Linked DNA regions of Homo sapiens: region 1 is linked to region 2. The links are contacts of gene promoters, found by promoter capture Hi-C in human tissues and cell types (Jung and others, 2019). All regions are on one chromosome and are shown on one strand. Each heading gives the region's core, a stretch centred on a gene start or on the middle of the fragment in contact. The rest is flanking DNA. Distances are from core to core; before and after follow the strand shown. Region 1 holds the start of FBL (fibrillarin). Region 2 holds the start of LRFN1 (leucine rich repeat and fibronectin type III domain containing 1).

The links. Contacts are between HindIII fragments. The study calls those that stand out against the background at their distance.
Region 1: the fragment with the promoter of FBL here is called in contact with the fragment with the promoter of LRFN1 in region 2 in 1 of the 25 tissues and cell types used here (stomach).

Annotation. Positions count from the first base shown.
Region 1 is chr19:39,842,920-39,847,760 of GRCh38, forward strand. FBL (fibrillarin) reads right to left here and starts at 3,460. Exons shown (of 9, transcript NM_001436.4): 1 at 3,372-3,460. The coding sequence starts at 3,381. RefSeq lists an enhancer at 2,265-3,005. The HindIII fragment of the contact is 10,030 bases long and covers 481-4,841 here.
Region 2 is chr19:39,317,903-39,322,246 of GRCh38, forward strand. LRFN1 (leucine rich repeat and fibronectin type III domain containing 1) reads right to left here and starts at 2,961. Exons shown (of 5, transcript NM_020862.2): 1 at 2,891-2,961; 2 at 424-456. RefSeq lists a silencer at 2,550-2,809. The HindIII fragment of the contact is 12,533 bases long and covers 1-4,344 here.

The DNA of each region.
Region 1 (4,841 bases), core at 2,210-4,709, 530 kb after region 2:
ACAGTCCAGCTTCTAAATCTTTACCACGTGCTGTTCCCACTGCCTGGCTCCTGCAGACATGTGCATGGCTCACTCGCTCCTTCACTGCATTCTGGTCTCTGATAAAATGTTAGTTCCCCAGAAGGGCCTACTTTGGCCACAGTACCCTTACCCTGCTTTATTTCCCTTCAAATCAATTATCACACATGGCATTTTTAATATTATTACCACCTGCCTCCCCCACTAAGATCAAGCTCCAAATGGGCAGGGATTTTTAACTGTTTTGGTCACCACCGCATCCCCAAAACCCTGCACAACATCTGGCACAAAGTATGGGCTCAATAAATGTTAAATGAGCACTGAGCTGATGACTCTTAAACCCTGGGCCCTGCCTCAAGGAGAAAGCACCCTCTATTTGTTCAGAAAGCACACAATCCATCAGATGGTGACCAGGGAAGTGCCGGTCACTCCCCTCAAGTATCGCATATGGAGAGATAGGCAATGTTGCTGCCACTCTCGACCCTAGTAAGGAAGGTTCATAGGGGTCTTGAAAACTTCATCTGTAAGACATGGAGACAATACAGTGCCAGGCCACGCGCCATAGCTCATGCCTGTAATCCCAGCACTTTGGGAGACCCAGGCAGGCGGACAGTTTGAGGCCAGGAGTTCAAGACCAGCCTGGCCAACATAGTGAAACCCTGTCTCTACTAAAAATACAAAAAATTAGCTGGGCGTGGTGGCGCATGCCTGTAATCCCAGCTACTCAAAAGGCTGAGGCACAAGCATCAATTGAACACAGGCGGAGGTTGCAGTGAGCTGAGATGGTGCCACTGCACTCCAGCCTGGGTGACAGAGAGAGATTCTGTATCAAAAAAATAAAAATAAAAAAAATGCAGTGCTCATCCTATAGGGTTGTAAAGATTAAATGACTTGTACCCACAGAGCACATCACATATATACTATCTGGCACCTACTTTGAACATCATCATTCAAACTCAGGGGTACGCGTCTCCTCTTCCCTCCTCATGTACCAAAAGTACCCATTCCTCAGAAAAAACACATGTTCACACAAACTTTTCCAGTTAGTTCTTTTTTCATCTTTCTATTAAAGATGAAAATGTAACTTTTAATAGCTACTCCTAATTTGATCTTTTAAAATGAAGTTTCCTTTTCAAAACTCTAGAACATAACTAAGAGTTGTTCACTTTTTAATGTTCTACTCCCCCTACAGTCCACTTTCCACACAGCAACTAATAAGTGCTGTTTTTGAAACAGCAACTCAGATCTCAATTTTCTTGCCCAAGCCCTCCAACAGTTTTCCAAAGCCAAGACCTTCATTTAGGGGAGATGCCACAGCTAGGCTTATGAAAGTCTCAACCCAGGCCTAACAGAAAGGAAGTACTGGCATGTGCTTGGGGCGGAGTGGGCATGAGTGTAAACTTTCAATCCCAGATACTCAAAACATCTCAATCCGTTTCAGGTCCTGGAGCTTTTGGGGGAAAATGTACCAAAAGTACCCAGTCCTCAGAAAAAACACATGTTCACACAAACTTTTCCAGTAAGTTCTTTTTTTGGGGGGAGGGGGGTCCATAAACCCCCTGATTTAAAATCTGCTCTCCTTCCACAGCCTTCTCCATCTCAAAAATGGCAATTCCATCCTTCCAGTTACACACCCCCAAACCCTTGGTTATCCTTGACTCCGATCACACACCCACATACAATCTGTTGGTTCTGTCTTCAAAAGCATGTAAAACTGTCAGCATGTCCACTGCTCCCATCCTGGTCCACCACACCATCTCCTAGATTACAGCAACAAGCTTCCCACCAATGTGCCTGCTTCCACTTTTGCCACCCTGAGGTCTTTCACACATCGAAGCAAAAAGAATCCCTTTTAAAAATGTCAGACTGCACCACGCCCCTGCTCAAAAATCTCCCAAAGGGTTCTTTTCTCACTCAGGCTAAAATCCTTACTAAAGAGCTAACACCTGACAACTTTTACAACTTCACATTCTACCACACATGGAGGAAGGTTGGAAGAACGGGTATCCTCCATTTATGAGGGAATCACAGACCAGAATGCCTGCAGGCAAGCCAGGATCTCAGCATACCTGGCCTACAATCCCCCACCCCACTTCATCAAGAGATCCCCAAACACGGAAGAGAAAGGGAACTTGGGAGAAGGGCACAGATCCACAAATCTCCTGCCAGGTGACCCCCATCTCTCCACACAAACACACACACAAAAGAAAAAGAAAGCCTGTACTAGGAAAACAGACCCTTTGGGCCATGGTGGAAATTCTCCAAACTCAATGAAGCAAGTTCTCACACAGATGAGTGCGGGTTGGGCAGGCCAGATGGAGGAAGTGCTCAGGCACCACCGAGAAGGATTCTAATGTTGTTCTCTTTGAGAAAGATAAAGGTAACAATTAGAGCTAATACTATTATATGTCAAGCACTGTGCTATTTTTTTTAACGTCGCTTAATCCTAACTGGCGCCATTTTATTGATGAGAAAACAGAGGCTCAGAGAGGTAAAGCCACTTGCCCAAGTTCACACAGCAGGCTAAGAAGCTGAGCAAGAGCTGACACACTGAACTGAGGCCCTTCTGCTGTCAAAGCCAGGACCCCCTCATCATTCCACCATGAAGGGAGTGGTTTCAGCAGAATCTAGTGGAAAATCTTAAGAATAAAACTACTTACCTCCTGTGACAACCACCCGCCCCACCACCCCAGACTAATGCCGAGCTTGTTAAGTCTCGTCCCGGAGGTGGAAATCTTAATCCCCAAATCTCCACTCCATCCCCGGGGATCCGCCCCACTGTAAGTGCAGAAGGCGGGAAAGTGAGCCGAAGAGCGCCGCACACGGCCAACCGGGGAGTCCTCATCCACTCCGGCCCACTCGGAAAAGCTGGGATGCGGGATAAGGGGATGGTGGTGGTGGCAGCGACAGGGAAGGCAAATGGGGGCTTCCCACACACAGCTCCAGGACCCAAGGTCAGGAACTCTCCATCTCCGACCCAAGCCTGATTCCCAAAACACGCCCAGCGATCCAAGACTCCAGATGCCTGAATCCAAACTCTAGCCCAAGACCCTTGAGTGCCGCCTCCTGCCCAATATCCAAAATCCCTATTAGACGGCCTCAATGAGACGAACCCCACGTCAACACCCCCAATGCCAGGCCCACGGCCTTCTTCGACTCACGACCGTGACCTCTGAAGCCAGTCACAAACCCCTAGACCTGCTGGAATCAGAATCCCCCTTCCCACAGGAGACTGGAACCCGTGCTCAGAACCCCTGCCCCCAGGCCAAGGCCCCACCCCTCCGATTCTGGCCTGGCACCCGGATTCCCGCCCGGCCTCCGTCCCTGACCCCGGACCCTCACCCCAGCCTGACCTGGCTTCATGGCGAGCCCTGGTTTGTGCGGCTCCGGAGTCCGCGGCGTTCACAACTCCACGAGTCCGGGGCTTTCGCACGTGGAAAAGAGCGCAGGCGCGCGGCGACGTGCGCTGCGTGACGCCACCCCGTAGTCCCGCCCCCGGGCCCCTTCCCCGCCCGGAGCTCGGCGCACGCGCAGTGAGCCTGGATTCTCGAGCCTGTCGACACGCAACCCGCTGCCCTCGCTCTCTGCCTTCCCAGCCTTTGCCTGTGCAGCGGTCGCCCTAAACTCGCTTCCGGTTTCCTCTTCCCCAATGCGAGCACCCCAATAATCAGGGCTCATAGCCTTCGCACGGGCTGTGCCCTCTTTTGTATTCCTAGCTAAATCCCTCTGGCCCCTGTACACCCAAAAAGGCTTCCCCAATACATTTCCAGCCCCAAGAACAGTGACCGACTCTGGGCTTCCATTCAAACATCCGAAAAACATTTACAGTGCACCTCGTGTGTACCAGGTGCTGTTCTAGGAGCTGGGAATACAGCGGTGTACGAGACATAAAAATCTCCACTCTCCTGGAGTTCATCTTTTTAATGGAGGAAATAGACACCAAACATGTTGAATGTTTGAAAGCGATAAGTGCTTTGGAGAAAATAACAGCAGGGAAAGGGGATAGAGATTTTGGAGGGCAAATGATTTTTGTTTTTTTGGCACGGTGGTCAAGGAATGCATCAGGAGACTTTTGAGCTAAAGGGCTGAAGGAAGTGAGGAGTGAGGCATGCACCTATCTAGGGGAAGAGAGTTCCAGGCAGGGAAAAGATCTGCAGATGCAGAGGCCCTGAGGAAGGAAAGATATGGGAAGTTGGAGAGACAATGAGGAGGGTGGGTGGGGCAAAGTGAGCAAGGTGGAGAGTAAGAGGAGATAAGGGCGGGTAGCTAACAAGGGCAGATTGTGCGGAGCTTTGTGGGACATAGTGAGGACTTAGGCAGTAAGATGGAACCATGGAAGGGTTCCAAGCAGAGAAGGAATGTGATCTGACACAGGTCCCTCTGGCTGCATGTGGGAAGCAGACTGCAGGAGTGAGGGTGAAAGCAGGAAAACCAAGGACTGGCTGCTGCCGTGAATCAGAAGAAAAGGATGGACAGATCAGAGTGGGGGCAGAGAGCGGCGTCAGGGGTCAACAGATTCTGCTTAAGTATTAAGAATTTTGGGCTTTGTAATTGTGTAATATCAGTATCCATCCCTATATTCATTCTGCAAAGCAAGACAACTGCTGTTATGAGAAGTTACCGAAAAACTCCAGAAGAACCTACCAGTCCAGAGCCTAGATGTTGACTCTGTTCCATTCACTGCTCTATCACTCTAGGCCTAGGACAGCCCTCTGGGTGCCCAGTAAATGTTTGTTGAATGAATGGATGGCCTCATACCGTTGTGAGTTCTCTGTGTACAGTGTTCCAGCTGTGGAATGCCACCAATTTGCACAGAAACATTC
Region 2 (4,344 bases), core at 1,711-4,210:
GAGATCTTCCCACACCCATGCACACGCACATACAAAATGGGCAAACATATTCACTCAACCCTCTAAATGCAGGGGTCATTTCATATCTTGACATATTCTTGTATCCTTTACTGATATCATGAGGAAACCTTGCTTTCCCAAACACCTTAACCATCCTGAGAATGAATGTCTCTTGGCCTGAAACCCCCCACCTGCTCCCCAGAGCCACCTGGCCACCACAAGCCCTCACCCAACTTTGATGTTCCTGACCTTGTCACCACTCCCCAGCCTTGGACAGAGTGGTGGGCAACTGGTCCTTCAGGAAACTGTCATCCCCTGAACTGAAATCCATGCGAGGCAGGGTTCCAGACCCCCAGCTGGCTGACAGCAAGCCCCATCACCCCCCATGTCTCTCTCTCTCTGAAGCCTTACGGCTCTACTCACCTCTCTTCAGGGAGTCAGGGCCTGGGCCAGCACCTGCAAAGGAACAGAACCACCTTGTTAGCATCGTTCTGGCTCTTCTCTGTGCACCAGATCTTGCCTTGGAGACCATCCCGGCCAAGGAAGTCCCTGGTGTGATCACGCTCTCAGTCCTCCTGTGGCGGGTTTTGCATAGTCTCACAGGAACCCAGAAGTCCTCTCTGGAATCCTAGATTAGGCCTCAGGGTTGTTCACCCTCCAAAGCCCAGGAGTCGAGGACTTTAGCCCTTTGTCCTCTGGGGTTTCAGGAGCCAAGAACCCCAGCCCCCTCTTCCCTCTGACCCAAGAGTCCAGACCAGACCTCTGGCCCTCCATTAGAACCCAAGAGTTTACATCCCAGCCCCTCAACTCCAAAGTCCTGAACGGTACCAAGAGCTGGGGAAGGGCCAAAGTTTCCCATCCTTGCCATGATACTATTGCCCACACCAACATGTGTGTCCATGTCAGAACCCACGCAAGCCCACAACCCAAGTCTCTACATCTGGATTTCTATGAACATAGCAACATGATCTGTGTGCCCTCCGCCCTCTATGGGCACTTGGCCTGGCATATGGACACACTGTGTCCAGGGACCCCAGGCGGGACCCCAGTATACCAGAGGTCATGCCACATGGGCCTCAAACCCACTGAACCCAAGAGTAGGGACAGCCTTGTGCCAGGGCACAGACACATGTGTCTTTCACATACATGTCTGAACATACACAACCCCCAGAGACCAACACCAAAACACAAACAGACTCACAACATAGATGGATACATACCCTCAAGGTTGACACACCTGCATGCAACAATACATGTACAACACTGACTCTGCCATGCAAGTTCACACACACAAATGCACAGATACAACAGAGAAACTCATGTGCCCCCTAACAGACAACCAGGTACATGCATTTACAACAGATCTACCTTGCACACTCACCAGCACACAGGGGCACACACATCTAACAAACACACACACACCTGTGCAAACATACACAAGTGCACACTCTTAAATGCCTAGACACACTCATACTTCACACATCTCCATGTTGCAAAGTTGATACAGCACCACGCTAACAGATACATACCTCACACACACACACACACACACAAAACCACAAGCATACAGATACGAGGCTGATCCACACTGGAACACGCACACAGGCACAAAAAGATCCACCTTTGCAGACACGCCAAGATGTTCACTCATAACAGACACATGCTCACACAACAGTCCTGTGATTTACACACTTCCAAATGCATAGAAAATACTGAACCACAGTAGCACAGTCAGTAGACAGGCCCAGATTCACACTCACACAGTCTTGGACACACATTCCTCCCAGCCCTGAGGCACCCCCCCACCACCCCACCTACTTACTTCCCAGGCCCAAGAAATCCTAACATCCCTGCAGCACATTCAGCATCCTGCCCTCCACACCCCCAAAAAACCAGGGCAAAAGCCAGGCCAGAGGTCAGAGTTCAGCAGGTGGAAACTCAAGAGGATTTGGGGGTTTGAGTCCTAGATCACCGTTTCAAGGAGATCCTCCCACCAGCAGCCCCAAAGGTTCCCCAGCCTGGCCATCAGGATGGAGGTAACTCTGGCTCCGTCTGCAGATGTCTGGCCGGTGGGGGAATTAGGGTGGAGTGGGTGGGGAAGGGCCGGGTCTTCGCCCCCCAACCCCCACCTCAGGGCCCATCTGTCCATTTCTCGGCCTCTCATCCCCCCTCCATCTGTCCACCTCCTGGCCGCCCATCCCCCCCCCGCAACCACCGGGAAGGGGAAGACATGGCCGCTTCCCCCAGGACCGCTAAGGACCCCCCAGTTGACATGGACCGAGGGAGCGGCGAACTCCCCTCCCCCAAATCCACACCGAGGCCTGGGCGCCGAGCCTCAGCCCCCAAGCCAGCAACCTGCCGTGGACTCACAGATACACACCCTCGGAGACATACAACCCGCAGACACACACACACACACACACACACACACACACACACAAATGGACACCCGAGCGGGCACACCCGGCTCCACAGACCCGGGGATGGACATCCAACCCGGACACAAACACCCAGAGCAGCTAGTCGCGCACGCACATGGGCTTGGGGGGGACCCACACCTGGGCACACAACCCACGCACACACACACCTGCACACAGCCCCTCCGATGGGCGCGCGACAGCGCCCAGACACACAGCCGGAGGGGCGGCCGCTCGGGGGGACACGCGTGCACAGCCGGACACGCCGGCCGGGCTCGACACCCCGCGCACACCCGATGGCCACACGGGCAGGGCGCCGCACACGCCGGCACCGGGCACACATAGGGCCGCGCGGGCGCACGCCGGGCCCGCCGCAGCGCCACGGACACACACTCGCACGCTCGCACGCTCACACCCGCGCACACACCCGCGCCCCCGCCCGCCGCTCCCGGGCCGCTGCAGGCCGCGCTCACCCAGCCCGGGGGGGCCCCGGGCCCGGCCCCGCCGCCGCTGCCTCGCTCCGCGCCATGGTGGGGGGAGGGCCGGGGGAGGGGGCGCGGTGCCGCGGGGCCGCCTCCCTCCCGCCTCCCGCCCTCCCTCCCGAGCCGCAGCCGAGCTCCGCCCTCCGCGCCGCCCGCCGCCACCGCCGCCGCAAGGGGGGAGGGGGCGCCGACTGGTGGGGGCGGCCGGGCGGGGCGGTCGCACACCCGGGATCCCCGCCCCGAACCCGCCGCAGACCCCTCTCCACTGCCGAGCCGCCGCGGGCCCGCCCCCGACCCTTCCCCAGCCCCACCCCCAGCCCCGCCGGCCTCCCCGGAGACCCCCCCAGACCACGCCCCAACTGGCCTAGGGACCCCGGATCTCCCTACAGAGACCTCCCATCACGTCCTAATACCCAGGGGGACCTCGGATCAGGCCTCACCTCTTTTGAGAACCCAGGCGATGTTCTAGGGCCACCCAGGACCACAAATCATGCCCTGCTCTCCTGCTTGACCTCAGACTATGACCCACACACTGTCAGGAACCCCAGACCATGCCCCCAAACCCAGAAGAATCCCAGATCATATCCCAGCATCCAAGGGGATCCAGACCACCCCACCAGCAACCCTAAATCATATCCCAACATTCAGATAGACCCCCAGACCACACCCCTTCCCTCACGGACCCCAAATCATACCCTAACATCGGGGGAGACTTCAGACCATATGTCAGCCAAATCCCAGATGGTGCCTGACTCCCTTTGGGGACCCAAACCACATTCTACAGCCACCAGAACCACAAATCATATTCCACTCCTTCTTGGGGACCCCCAGCCATGTCCTTCTACCCTCAAGGACCCTAACCCATTCCCTTACCCCCAGTATGAACTCCAAACCATGCCTAACTTCTAGGGGGCCCTAAAATGTCTCTTATCCCTATGGAAGACCCTTAAACTTTCCCCATGAACCCCATTAGACCCCAAACCATCTTCCACCCCTTTGACCTTACACCTTTCTCTCTCCTTCTCCTCCAAGACATCCTTTGGTTTCCAAAACTCCCCAATTAGCCCCAATTTTTTCCCACCCCCTACTAGTCCTGCCCCCTTGAGGACCCTGCCTCCTTCTTGCTCCAGTTCTTTCTCTTGGACCCTGAAAGTCCCCCCTCCCTGTGACTTCCATAGAGCCCAGAATGCCTTGCTCCTTCCTAGTTCAGACCCCTTTGCCCATCCCCTGTCCCATAGCTGAACCCCACCCCTTCCCTCAAACCCCACTGAGTATCTCAGGCCACTCTCCTTCTCTTTCTGAGATATTCACAGGGTCCCTAAACCCAGCAACTTCTCCCCTAAAAATCTGTGTTGTTTCATGCAGTGCCCCAGATTCCTGGGGTCTCAAACCCTTCTCGTTTTGGATCCCACTGTACAGAGGTCCTCCTCTAAACCCCTTTCCTA